Linked DNA regions of Homo sapiens: region 1 is linked to region 2. The links are contacts of gene promoters, found by promoter capture Hi-C in human tissues and cell types (Jung and others, 2019). All regions are on one chromosome and are shown on one strand. The core of a region is centred on a gene start or on the middle of the fragment in contact, and the rest is flanking DNA. Distances in the headings are between cores, read along the strand shown.

Region 1 (6,554 bases), core at 2,520-5,019, 520 kb after region 2:
ACCATCTGTCACTGTACCTAATACTAGAAAGAAAATTTAAAATATTAAAGTATATAAAGTAGAAAGTGATGTTTCACTGTTATACTTCTACCAGTGTTACCCACTGTTTGTTTTTTTCCCTTTTGCATATCAGTGGTATCTGCAAATTACTGAAATGGAATTGTACTATAAATACACTTGTCAAGTTTGCTTTTTTCACTTGTTAATATATTTTCAGTCTGGGTGCAGTAGTTCACACCTGTAATCCTGAGATGGGCTGATCACTTGAGCCCAGGAGTTGTTGACTAGCCTTAGACAACATGGCGAAACACTGTCTCTACAAAAAAATACAAAAATTAGGCAGTTGTGGTGGTGCACACCTGTAGCCCTATCTACTCAGGAGGCCGAGGTGGGAGGATTCCTTGAGCCTGGGAGGCTGAGGCTGCAGATTGCACCACTGCACTCCAGCCTGGGTGACAGAGTCAGGCTCCATCTCAAAAAAACCCCAAACATATATATATGCTATCCCCAAACATATATATATGCTATATATAAGCATTTTCCAATATGACTAAAACACTATTTAAATGACATTTTAAATAGCTATGTAACATTTCATCATTTATATGTACTCTGGTTTATATAACCATTCCTCTAAGGCTGCCAGTTTGGATCTAAGTAAATATTTATTCACTTTTTAAAATTCTTTCCCAAAGCTAAGTCTCAGATAACCTCACTGAGTCAGAGATAAACATTTTAAAGTTTCCCTTCCAGGGAGAGTTTATCATCTTACACTCTCAGCAGTAGCTTATGAAAATATACAGTGACAACAATCACAAACACTTAAAAAATCTTTGTTGATCTCCTGGATGAAAAAGCTTTCGTTTAATTTGTTTCTTAACACTAGAGGGTTCAGTGCTTCTGCATGTTCAATGATCTTCCTCTGTGATTTTTGGAATAGAGGTGATCTTCGCCCTATTACACAAAACGTTGATTTCCAGCTCAGATTCCTTAGAACTTGCTAACCCCATTCCTGGAACCAAAGTGCTGTTTGCTGTGTTCTCCATACATTGGATCAGAAGCCTAAGCTCTGGAAGTCCTGCGCCGTTTCCTGGTGGCCTCCTAGCTCCCTCTAGGGGCCCCATCCGCAACTGCAGCCCCACCTTCTTTCCTCTCTTGAGGAATGAGTTTACCCTGCGGGAATTCCGAGAAGGAAGAGGCGAAAGTGGGGAGCTCCACAAGTAAAGATTTGGACTTTGTGATCAGACAGTGTGTGAATAGTTTTGCTTACTGGTTGAGCAAGCTTCTCTTAGGTGGGCTGTCTTTTTTTTTTTTTTTTTTTTTTTTTCCCGAGACGGAGTCTCTCTCTGTCATAAAGGCTAGAGTGCAATGGCGCGATCTTAGCTTCCTGCAGCCTCCGCCTCCCAGGTTCAAGCGATTCTCCTACCGCGGCCTCCCAAGTAGCTAGGATTATAGGCGCGTGCCACCATGCCAAGCTAATTTTTGTATTTTTAGTGGAGATGAGGTTTCGCCATGTTGGCCAGGCTGGTCTCGAACTCGTGATCTCAAGTGGTCCAACAGCCTCAGCCTCCCAGAGTGCTGGGATCACAGGCGTGAGCCACCGCGCCCGGCCAGGTGGGCTGTTTGTGTTCCTCGTCACCTTGTTCCTGGGGAGGGACAGAGGGCAGCAGATCAGCTGTCACCCAGGTAGGTGTCCGACGTGGGAAAAGTATGGGAAAGATACTCTAGTTAGTTCTCATTTTCTTTTCTAAAACTTCGAGTTCTCTGGAGTCCCTTTATAGAGAGAAAGTTTAAGTAACTGAAATTAATTTCCATGGCTGTCAAGGGGGTTCTGATGATGATCCCTGAGATCACCCAGCTGTAGGTAGACATTCTTGGTACCTTAGTTTAGCAGAGTCAGAAAATACTGCGAACGTTCAAGGATGGGGACCTTCTAGAAGAGAGGGCAACAGTAACTTTGAGGGGAGGACAAGAGAGCAGCTTTGGAGACCTAAAGAGTTGTGGCCTTCTATGTAAGTCCTATTATCCCTTCCATGCACCCCCACCCACATTCCCCTACTCCATTAAACTTTGTTTCAGGTTATAAAAATAATGCATAATTATTGCAGGAAAAAATGGTAATTGAAAATCACCTATTTCTTACACTCAAAGATAATGACTTAAAATTTGGTGTACATCTTATGTGTATGAGTGTACACATAATTTTGTCATCATATATGTGAGTGTGTTCATAACTGTAACCCACATACTTATATACTTCCTTTAAAATATTTTAAGTATTTTTCCCTGTCAATAAATATTTTTTTGAAAACACAATCTTTTTATGGCTGCATAATATTCCAACATGTATATGGGTTATCATTTAATAGGAATTGGACATTTGATGCTCATTTTTAGCAAGCTATTATAAATCTGAGATGACGATTTCTGGAACTAGGATAAATTCCTGAAATAGAATTTTTGGGGAGAAAATATCTGAACTTTGTAAATTCTACTGACATTTAATACAAATTTCTCTCCTAAGAGCTTGTTTTAGCTTCTGCTATCCCTTGCAGAGTGTGAACAAGTATCTGTTTGTCTGTGTCATTACTAACACTGGGGTTATCATTCTTTTTAAGCTTTGCTAGTCTGATAGGTAAAGCATAGGGTTTTTTGTTGTTGTTTGTTTTTGGAGAGACAGAGTCTCACTCTATTGCCCAGGCTGGCGTGCACAGACGTGATCTCAGCTCACTGCAGTCTCAACCTCTAGGCACAAGTGATCCTCCTAGCTCAGCCTCCTAAGTAGCTGGGACTACAGGCGTGCCCCACTACACCTAGCTAACTTTTTTATTATTTGTAGAGATGGGATCTTGCTGTGTTGCCTAGGCTGGTCTTGAGCTCCTGGGTTCAAGTGATCCTCCCACCTTGGCCTCCCAAAGTGTTGGAATTACAGGTGTGAGCCACTGTGCCTGGCAGCAATATTTTTTAAATCATGAGGAAAGCTAAAGATTTTATTTTATAGTTATTGATCATTCATACTTATTTTGTGGTTTGTCTGCCTATTCTTTACCCATTTTTTATATAGGACTGTTACTTGAGTTATTTTCATATTAGAGTTACATCCTTTTCTGTCATACAGTATAGATGTTTGCTCTAGTTTGTTATTGCCTTTTCGTTTACGGTGTTTCACCTAAGTGTGTGTGTGTGTGTGTGTGTGTGCGCGTGTAAAACCTACTGGAAGGTACTATGGGAAATAATCCTTATTTACCTGTCACCCAGAATGCACAGACATTTTTACATTATAGTTTTGGTTTGATATTTTTTATAAAGGAAATTAAATATATAAAAATTGTGTGTGTATTTTAAAACCTACTGGAAAGTACTATAGGAAATAATCCTTATTTACCTATCACCCAGAATGCACAGACATTTTTACATTGTAGCTTTGATTCTGTATTTTTATAAAGGAAATAAAATATTATATAAAAATTGGAATCATCTTGATTCCTTTTCCCATCCTCTCCCTTCCTTCCCTAGGGCAGCTGCCATTATGAATTGAAATTTTCCTACTGTTACCATATATACTATTGTCAATAAAAAACATACAGTACTAGTTTACAGTACTAGTTTGTGGCCGGGCATGGTGGCTCACACCTGTAATCCCAGCACTTTGGGAGGCCGAGGTGGGTGGATCACCTGAGGTCAGGAGTTCGAGACCAGCCTGGCCACCATCTCTACTAAAAATACAAAAATTAGCCGGGTATGGTGGTGAGTGCCTGTAATCCCAGTTGCTTGGGAGGCTGAGGCAGGAGAATCACTTGAACCTGGGAGGCAGAGGCTGCAGTGAACCAAGATCGTGCCACTGCACTCCAGCCTGGGCGACACAGCGAGACTCCGTCTCAAAAAAAAAAAACAAAACAGTACTAGTTTGTGTATGTGTGTGTGCGCACTCTCAAACTTACACATATACGATCATTGGTATATCTTCAGGCATTTTGCCTTATTTGCACTGGTGTTCAGTTCAATTAATAATGATATGCATAGATCTAGCCCTTTCATTTTGACTGCTGTCTGGTATTACATCCAGTAAATACAGCTCCAGTTTCTTCGTCTATTTATCAATTCTCATATCTAGTGAACACTGAAGACGCTTCTAGTTTTTCCATAACAACGTTGCCGTGAACATCCATACATGTCTGTCCTCATGCATGTTTGGGTAATCTTCTCAAGGGGCAACCTTAGAAGTGTGTTGTGGATTATGTGTATTTTCAGATCTATTGGCCCTTGACAAATTGTTCCCAAGTAGTCATCCCAGTTGATGATACTCCCACCAGTGTGAAAGGGCTCCTCTTGTCCCACACCTTCCAAGACATGCTATTAGATTTAGTAATTTTTGCCAATCTATGAAAGTGAGATAGAATCTCATTGTGGTTTTAGTTTGCATTATCCTGATTGTTGATAGGATAGAACATCTTTTTATTATAGATATTGGGGTTATGATTAATAATCCTGGTTATTCCTAAGGTATAACAGGTTTTCTATTCTATGCACTTTCTCTTCCTGCCCTTTGCTCATTTCCCCATTGGATTATTTATCTTTTTCTTATTAATTGGTGTTCTTTGTGTCTTAGGTACTAATACTATTTTAATTTATTTTATTTATTTATTTTTGAGACAGAGTCTTGCTCTGTTGCCCAGTCTTGACTCACTGCAATCTCCACCTCCTGGGTTCAAGTGATTCTTCTGCCTCAGACTCCCAAGTAGTGCGTGGCACCATGCCTGGCTAATTTTTTTTTTTTTTTTTTTTGAGACAGAGTCTCCCTCTGTCACCCAGGCTGGAGTGCAGTGGCATGATCTCGGCTCACTGCAACCTCCGCCTCCTAGGTGCAGGCGATTCTCCTGCCTCAGTCTCCCAAGTAGCTGGGGTTACAGGTGCATGCCACCATGCCCAGCTCTTTTTTGTATTTTTAGTAGAGATGGGGTTTCACCATATTGGCCAGGCTGATCTCGAACTCCTGACCTCAGGTGATCCACCTGCCTCAGCCTCCCAAAGTGCTGGCACTACAGGCTTGAGCCACTGTGCCCGGCCAATTTTTGTACCTTTTGTAGAGACAAAGTTTCACCATGTTGGCCAGGCTGGTCCCAAACTCCTGACCTCAAGTGATCCTCCCGTGTCAGCCTCCCAAAATGCTGGGACTACAGACGTGAACAACTGTGCCCGGCCAGATACTAATAGCATTTTATATGTGCTTTGGCCATCTTCTGATCCATGGCTTACTCTTCCTTTTTTCTTTAACTCAACATGTACTGCACTCTGTTAGAGTATTGCCAAAGCTTCCCCTCCAAGTATGAAGCTGACTTAGCTATATCTTCAAGGAATGTAGCATATACTCAGAGTATTAAAAAGTCCTACAGGAACCTACAGGAGGGCTGGGGGAAACATTCAGACAACACTAGATCTGGTAGCAACGACCACCACAGCAAAGAAGATGGATTTGTAGTTAAAGTTACTTCCTTTTTTATGCCTTTTCCGCTGCGTTGATGCTTTCAGGGTCCTCTCTGAGGTCTGAGGAATGTTCTTTGACAGTCTTGTCGCTATCTGCCTTGCGCTGCTTTGCCTCCTGTGGGCGTCACCAGGCGAGGGCAGCCAGTGTTCGTCTGGCGGGTTTCTCTGTATCTCGGGCACTGTTTGTGACAATGATGATTTTACTTTCATTTTGTGGGCTGGCCCCAAAGGGCTTGGTTTAACTTTTTGCAGAGAGTTCATTCAGTTTCTGAAACCCCCACATTGCCTGTTGAGTATGTGTTGAGCCTAGCACTGGAAATGCCCTCAGATCTGTGAATACTGCCAAGTAGGGGATCCCGGGACACCCTCTGCTGACCTTGAGCTCACAGCCCCATTGTGTTTTCCATAAGAGATGAGAGGGACTGATAAAGGATGTTTACCTGTGTTAGCCTTATGGAAGCAAGAGTTCCATCCAAGGAATCAGGGTGCTTTGAACTTTTCCCACTCCCGCCTACTCGTTTTAGGTCAAGAGAAACAAAAATATCCTTCCAACAATGTGTGTTTTCTACAGTTTAGGTGAGAAAAAGATAGGAAAATAATAGTTAACCAATGTATAGGACTCTCCTGATAGGCGGTCACAATGGTCCTGGAGCATATGTCCAAGGTGACTGTCATAAATGCCTGTGGGAAACTGCATCTTCACAAGAGACTGTTGCTTGGATGCCCCCTTGTGTTGCCTCTGCTGTCCTGCCACCAAATGCTTTGCTGGCATCTTTCCAAGCAGATAGGAGGTGCTGGAAGGTGAGCGTAGGATGACTTCCAAGTCAGCCCTTGAGTCTTTTTGCCAAATAGCACCTGCCAGGGCACCCTTCCTCCCGGCCTCAGCCTGCCTGCCTCTCGCCGAGGGCCACGGCATCTTTTAGGAACTGGAAAGTGTCATTGACAGTTGGCGGTTTTTACGTGTTTATTTCTGCCTAAAGATTTTGCTTTTCACTTTTCACTTTTTCCACTGCATATTAAAATTTTTCTTTTTTTACCCTGTGTTTGTGATTTTTTCCTTAGGCCGGAAG
Region 2 (6,590 bases), core at 307-2,806:
CTTGGAAATTCAGTCCTAAGAAATTATAGTAAATATTCATCAGCCAGGCACAGTGGCTCACATCTGTAATCCCAGCACTTTGGGAGGCCCAGGTGGGAGGATCACTTGAGCTCAGGAGCTCGAGACCAGCCTGGGCAACACAGTGAAACCCTGTCTCTACTTTAATATATATAATTTATATATATATTTATAAATCCATGCCATGGTTTAAATGAAGTTTTAAATTTTCTATCTACTATGCAGCAATATGTCACCTGATGTTGGAGAATGAACCAGGAAGTATTCCTGGAGCTTATATTGATATTTTAGAAGCTCCTGTCTTGTATTTGTAAAGACGGCAGTCACCGGGACGCCCAAATTCAACCTCACTTGCGTCCTTTTATTCCTTTATCTAATTTACACCTGCCAAACACAAATCCACCCTAGATGCAGCAAGGGGAATCAAACCCACATGGCTTCCTGGAGAGCTCTATTTAAAAAACACAAAACCTGTACTAATCTCGCGAAACCTGTACTAGCCTCACATCAAGTTCTTACATGAAGAAACCAGGTTATTTACTACGTTCTAATACATCCAGGGCCCACAGGGCATTTCCTGGCTGGCACAGGTCACTGGGACGTGTTGGTCCCTTCCCCCAACCGAAACAACTCGAAATTCACACATATCCCCGGAACAACAGCCTCCTGCCCTCAAAGTCCACTGCCAAAAAGTGCGAGGGGCGCGGGAATGTCCAGTCTCTGCGGTGGCGCAGATGCCTGGCGGCTTTCTCTGGGACCCCCTAAAAGAAATCCGGGCGCTTTCATTTTTGCACCAACGCTCTTCAACTTTAGGAGAGGGGGAATGCAGCGTGCGGACGGGAAAAAGGGGATCTAGTGGGAAATGCGGACGTGAAAGCACTTTTTTTGCACCTTCTCTCTGGACCAGGCGAGGAGGTAGAGGGCGAGCCTGGAGAGGAAAGATCTCTTCCCACACCCTGCCTGGGTGCTTTCAAGAATCCCGGCAAAGACCCTGGGGCGCACGGCGCGCCACCTTGGACATGTCGCCTGGGATCGGCTACCGGGAGCTCCTTTTCCCGCCTTCTCGGCCAGCACCGGGCTCATCCTCCCGGACCGGGAGGCTCCCCGATCGGGGACACTCTCACGTGCCGAGGGCAAGGTTGACTCCAGGAGGGCAAGGCCCACGCGCCCGACGCGGCGCGCGCAGGAACCGAACAGTCCGGGGGTCCCGGAGCCACCCGCGCATTTTGACTACGCCGTCCCCGCCCTCTCTCCGCACCCTCCGCACCCTCCGCACCCTGCGTCCCTCGGCCGCATCTCCGCCGGGCGTCCGCTGGCTGGCTAGCTCACCACTCCACGCCATCCGCCTCCAAAGCCCGGCACTCACCTGCCCCGCGCGGCAGGCGCGCCGCACCCAGCAGCAGAACCCCTAGCAGTGCGATAGAGACCCCGCAGTTCAGGCCGGCCATGACTCCGGGACGCCTCGGCCTCGGTGGGGAAAACGACGGTGGGGAGCGGCGGCCCCAGGCGCCCAAGCCCGGCGCAGCTGCGCTCCGCCCTGGCTCACTCACCTGCGCGCGGGCGGACCGGCCCGAGCCCCGCCCTGCGCAGCAGGATCGCGAGCTGACCCGGTGCGTCCCTCCTCTCTCTCCTCCTCCTCTTCCTGCCTCAGCGACCGCCTCTCCCTCCCAGGGTGCAGGGCTCCCGGCACCGGGTTGCTGGGTCCCTACTACTCCCCATTGCGGCGTTGGAGCGGACTTGTCCCCACCTTTCCGGGCTTAGTCTTCCTTCCCAAGTCTGAGAATGATGAGGTCTTTTTCTCCAGAGTCGCGAAGGTCGCCCATAGAGGAAGCCAGTCTACCTTCCCTTTTCTGTCGAGGAGACAAAGGCCATTATGCGCCTCGTTTTGGAGAAGAATCCTATTTGTGGGCCACCCAAGCCCTGGATCCTCTGCTACTTGACTTGGGCCAGAGGTCTGTTGGACTTTAAAGCCGGTGGTGGTACAGCTAGTATTTGCAGGACGGTGAGCCTGCAGCCTACTCCACACACATCACCTGCAGTATTTCCAGACACGCAACGTGTCCAAGGTCCCCAGGGTAGCTAGTAAATTAGAGGCAGATGCACCACTTCGTTGAATTGTGAGTAGAGTAGTATGCATCCCTTCACTGAGCTGTGGATGGAGTAGTATGTGCCCTTCTCGAGTTGTATTATAAATGGAGTAGTGTGTGCAGTGTGAGCGTGAAGCATTCAGGTCAAACGTTGGGCTGGAAAATGAATGAAAAATGAATGGCGCTGGACTCCTTTTCCAAATCCTCCCAGCCGCAGGTGTGCCACCTGCCTGTCTTCAGAGGCCCTGTGGGTTCTCCTTCCACCCTGCCGGCCATACACCAAGTCCAGGCCACAGGCAGAGATTGCGGATGGTTCAGGAGTTCTTAGCTAGCAGACCTGGGTTCTGCCAGAATGACTCCCTGGGACTACTTGTGTTCATGGATAGCCAGAAGCTGGGCCAGAGTCACCCGGAGCAACCTGGGAGGCTTGGGACAGGAACCAAAGCATGTGCGACAGCATCAGTTTACAGTCCAGTCCCAACTTCTGCTTAATTCTTGCGGGCACTGAGCCTCTCCAGGCTGCCCCAATCCTCCTTGTGGACAGGGGTGGGAAATCATCTCCTAGGAGCGTCACCCCTTCCTTCTCGATGTCCTTAATCATGAGAATAGAGCTAGCTCTGCCCTCTGGGAGCCCACAGTCCATCGAGGGAGGCAGAACTTGGAACATGACCCTGCCCACACCCCCACCTCTGGGAGGGCCTGTATCGTGAGCTAAACGGGACCTTAGATGTAATCTTCTAGTCCACTTCTGTCCTTGTGCAGAAAAATGGGAAAACTGAGAACTAGAGGGAAGGGAGAGGATGAGAAACGAAGAGAGGCTCTTGGTTCTCCCCACTGAATCGAGGACAAATTCATCAAGAGAAAGAAATCTTGACAAAAATCTAAACAATCTTTAAAAATATTTATGCTGACCAGGAGGGTGAAAGGAGATTTGTCTTTTCTCCTGATTCTAAGCAGGCATATATATCCCAGCATCTTTTCCTAACATCCATGACACCATTGTTTCCCACATACAGTAATACCCACAACAGTACTAGAATGGCAGTGTATTGAATGCAAAATATCAGAAATATTGCTTGACAAGTTAAGCCTAAGGAACAAGTTATTTCCTTACTATTTCGTCTCTCCAAAGTTTGCTTAACTGTCTTTCTTGGGATAGTTGACACCAGCTTTCTGAAAATGGAATGAGAGTCACTAATTCCCAAATATGAAGCATTGGTGGTGGTTCCAGAAAGTAGCAGCAACGAGAAAGAAGAAAATAGGGAGGCACTTCAGCATCCTTTGCGTGACAACCCAACTACATAGTTGAAGTAAAGATGTCCTGACATACTGTCCTGGTCCTCCAAGTGGAGTGTGAACAAAGCATTGCCAAGAATGGACATGTTTTGTCTTTACAAACATGGCTGAATGGAAGGAGTAAATTTTAAAAGGTTATTTCTGAACTGGAAAGCAACGTAGGTAACTATAATCTAGTGCTAGAGAGAAATGAGAGATTGAAAGGTAAATTTTCGGCTGGGTGCAGTAGCTCATGCCTGTAATCCCAGCACTTTGGGAGGACAAGGTGGGTGGATAACTTGAGGTCAGGAGTTGGAGACCAGCCTGGCCAACATGGCAAAACCTCATCTCTACTAAAAACACAAAAATTAGCCGGCTGTGGTGGCGGGCGCCTGTAGTCCCAGCTACCCAGGAGGCTGAGACAGGAGAATTGCTTGAACCTGGGAGGTGGAGGTTGCAGTGAGCTAAGATTGCACCATTCCACTCCAGCCTGGGCGACAGAGTAAAGTTCTCTCTCTAAAAAAAGAAAAAAAAAAAAAAGGAAGGTGAGTCTTAAAACAGACTGTCCCATCTAATTTTGACCTCTTCTGAAACCCTGCAAAGGCTGTAAAACAGGGATTAAAAAAAATTACATAAGCCCACAAAGGTGGGAAGAACAGAGAGAAGACAACAGCAAAATCACCCTGGAAGCTAGACAGCAGCTGGACTAGTGGTAGCTGCCTTAGGAGCCTGGAGATGGCAGAACCCTAAGCCAGTAGTGGGGAAAACTCAGAAATAACACGATTAACACAGAAATCCTCAAAAAAGATCCTCAGGAAATGGCAGCACAAGGTATTCTGCAACTGGAGGGTGAAAGAGGAGTTAAACAAGAAAGGCTAGAAGAAAGCTGTTTGAGAAGTACTGTGGTTAGATCCCAGAACCCATCCATCATTACCCTTGCCTGGGCAACAGTCCCTCGTCCAGCTTCCAGTGTTGTTCTTGAGAAATCCAAAACCATTCTCATTTTTATTATTTTCTTTGAGACCCTTTTCTTGCCTCTAAAGCTGTAGAATCTTCTTTTTGTTCATTGGTTTCTGAAATTTCACCATAATGTGCCTTGATGTGAGTCTGCCTATATTATCGATCTTTAGATCTTGACAAGTTAGAGGGTTGGTAAGCTTAACAACTTTAGTGTTGTCTTCTGGAGAGATTAAAACCTAGGGATGTGGGCTGAGGGATGCCAGGCATAGCTGAAAGCATAGGAAACATTGTAAAAGTAGGTAAATAAAGGGAAGATATGCATTCTGAATGCTGAGATCCCCAGCTGTCTGGCCCCAACCTGCATCCAAGGATGAGACAAAAAGGCTTTGTTATCCATATTGGGGATGGAAAAAGTCTTCTTCTGGGGAGTCTGACCAGCACAGGAGGAAAGACCCAAACATATGGACATTAGACCCTCATAAACAGGCCAACCAGCTTCCTACCATGAGGCTTTCAATTAAGCCCCACCAACTTAGCTTTTTAATATCTCATTTTAATTTTAATTTTTATTTATTTATTTTTTTTGAGATGGAGTCTCGCTCTGTCACCCAGGCTGGAGTGCAATGGCGCGATCTCGGCTCACTGCAACCTCTGCCTCCCGGGTTCAAGCGATTCTCCTGCCTCAGCCTCCCAAGTAGCTGGGACTACAGTTGCACACCACCACGCCTGGCTAAGTTTTGTATTTTTAGTAGAGATGAGGTTTCACCATGTTGGCCAGGCTGGTCTCGAACTCCTGACCTCATGTGATCCACCCACCTCAACCTCCCATAGTGCTGGGATTACAGGCGTGAGCCACTGTGCCTGGCCAATATCTCACTTTTAAACATGAGCAATCAGGATTTCAGGATATCTGAGGAGAGCTTCTAACATATTAGAGTCAAAGCCAACCAAGTAACCAAACCGAGAAAAAAGAAAGAAAGAAAGAAAGAAAGAAAGAAAGAAAGAAGCAACCTGAAAGACTATACAAAGAGAAGAAAATAAAAGGAAGCAAAACAAAAAAATTACTAACTCTCTTAGAGTGATGTAGGCAACTATAATTTGGTGTCAGACAACATTCTCTCTGTGAAGCAGGAACAGCATGTTATAAAAAACAAAACAAGGCCGGGTGTGGTGGCTCACACCTGTAATCCCAGCACTTTGGGAGGCTGAGGCGGGTGGATCACCTAAGGTTGGGAGTTTGAGACCGACCTGACCAACATGGAGAAACCCTGTCTCTACTAAAAATACAAAAAATTAGCCAGGCGTGGTGGTGTGTGCCTGTAATCCCAGCTACTCAGGAGGCTGAGGCAGGAGAACCACTAGAACCCAGTAGGCAGAGGTTGCAGTGAGCCAGGATTGCACCACTGCACTCCAGCCTGGGCAACAAGAGCGAAACTCCATCTCAAAAACAGAACAAAACAAACAAAAAGATTCAGAGAACCACAAAAGAATTATTGGAAATGAAAAAAAGTGATTGTAGATAAAAAAAATAATAATAAATAAATAGAAGAGTTAGAAGTGCTCCCAGAAAGTAAAGCAAAAAGACAAAGAGATAAAAAGTAGGAGGGAAAAGTAAAGAAAATTTGAGGTCCAGTTCAGAAAATCCAACATCTGAAAAATAAGTTTCCTAAAAAGAGAGAGCAGATGAAACAGAGGAGACGACATCATCAATAATATAAGTGAAGAAATTCTCCAGGCCTGAATGACATGAGTTTCCAGATTAAAAGAGTCATGGAGTGCCCTGCACAATGGATAATATAGGCAGACTCACGTCCAGGCACATCATGGTGAAATACCAGAAACCAATAACGAAAAGAAGATTCTAGGCCAGGCGTGGTGGCTCACGCCTATAATCCCAACTATTCCTGAGGCTTAGACACGAGAATCACTTGAACTCTGGAGGTGGAGGTTGCAGTGAGCCGAGATTACACTACTGTACTCCAGCCTGGGTGATGGAAACAAACAAACAACAAAAAAGAAGATTCTGTAGCTTCCAGAGGCAAGAAAAGGGTCTCACAGAAAATAACAAAAATCAAAGTGGTTTTGGATTTCTCAAGAACAACACTGGAATTTGGAAAACAATGAAGCAATACCTTCAAAATTCTGAAGAGAGATAACTTCCAAATTAGAATTCTATACCTAGCCAAACTACCAATTAAACAATAAGGTAGAAAAAGGGCACTTTTAAACGTTCAAGATCTTAAAAAACCT

Evidence for each region. Contacts are between HindIII fragments. The study calls those that stand out against the background at their distance.
Region 1: a fragment that was not itself captured here is called in contact with the fragment with the promoter of CDCP1 in region 2 in 1 of the 25 tissues and cell types used here (hippocampus).

Annotation. Positions count from the first base shown.
Region 1 is chr3:45,659,104-45,665,657 of GRCh38, forward strand. It overlaps LIMD1 (LIM domain containing 1), which reads left to right. Exons shown (of 8, transcript NM_014240.3): 3 at 6,547-6,554. Among named protein-coding and RNA genes, the nearest start is that of LIMD1-AS1, 27 kb to the right of the region's middle. The HindIII fragment of the contact is 5,401 bases long and covers 1,070-6,470 here.
Region 2 is chr3:45,144,822-45,151,411 of GRCh38, forward strand. CDCP1 (CUB domain containing protein 1) reads right to left here and starts at 1,557. Exons shown (of 9, transcript NM_022842.5): 1 at 1,385-1,557. The coding sequence starts at 1,466. The HindIII fragment of the contact is 13,721 bases long and covers 1-6,487 here.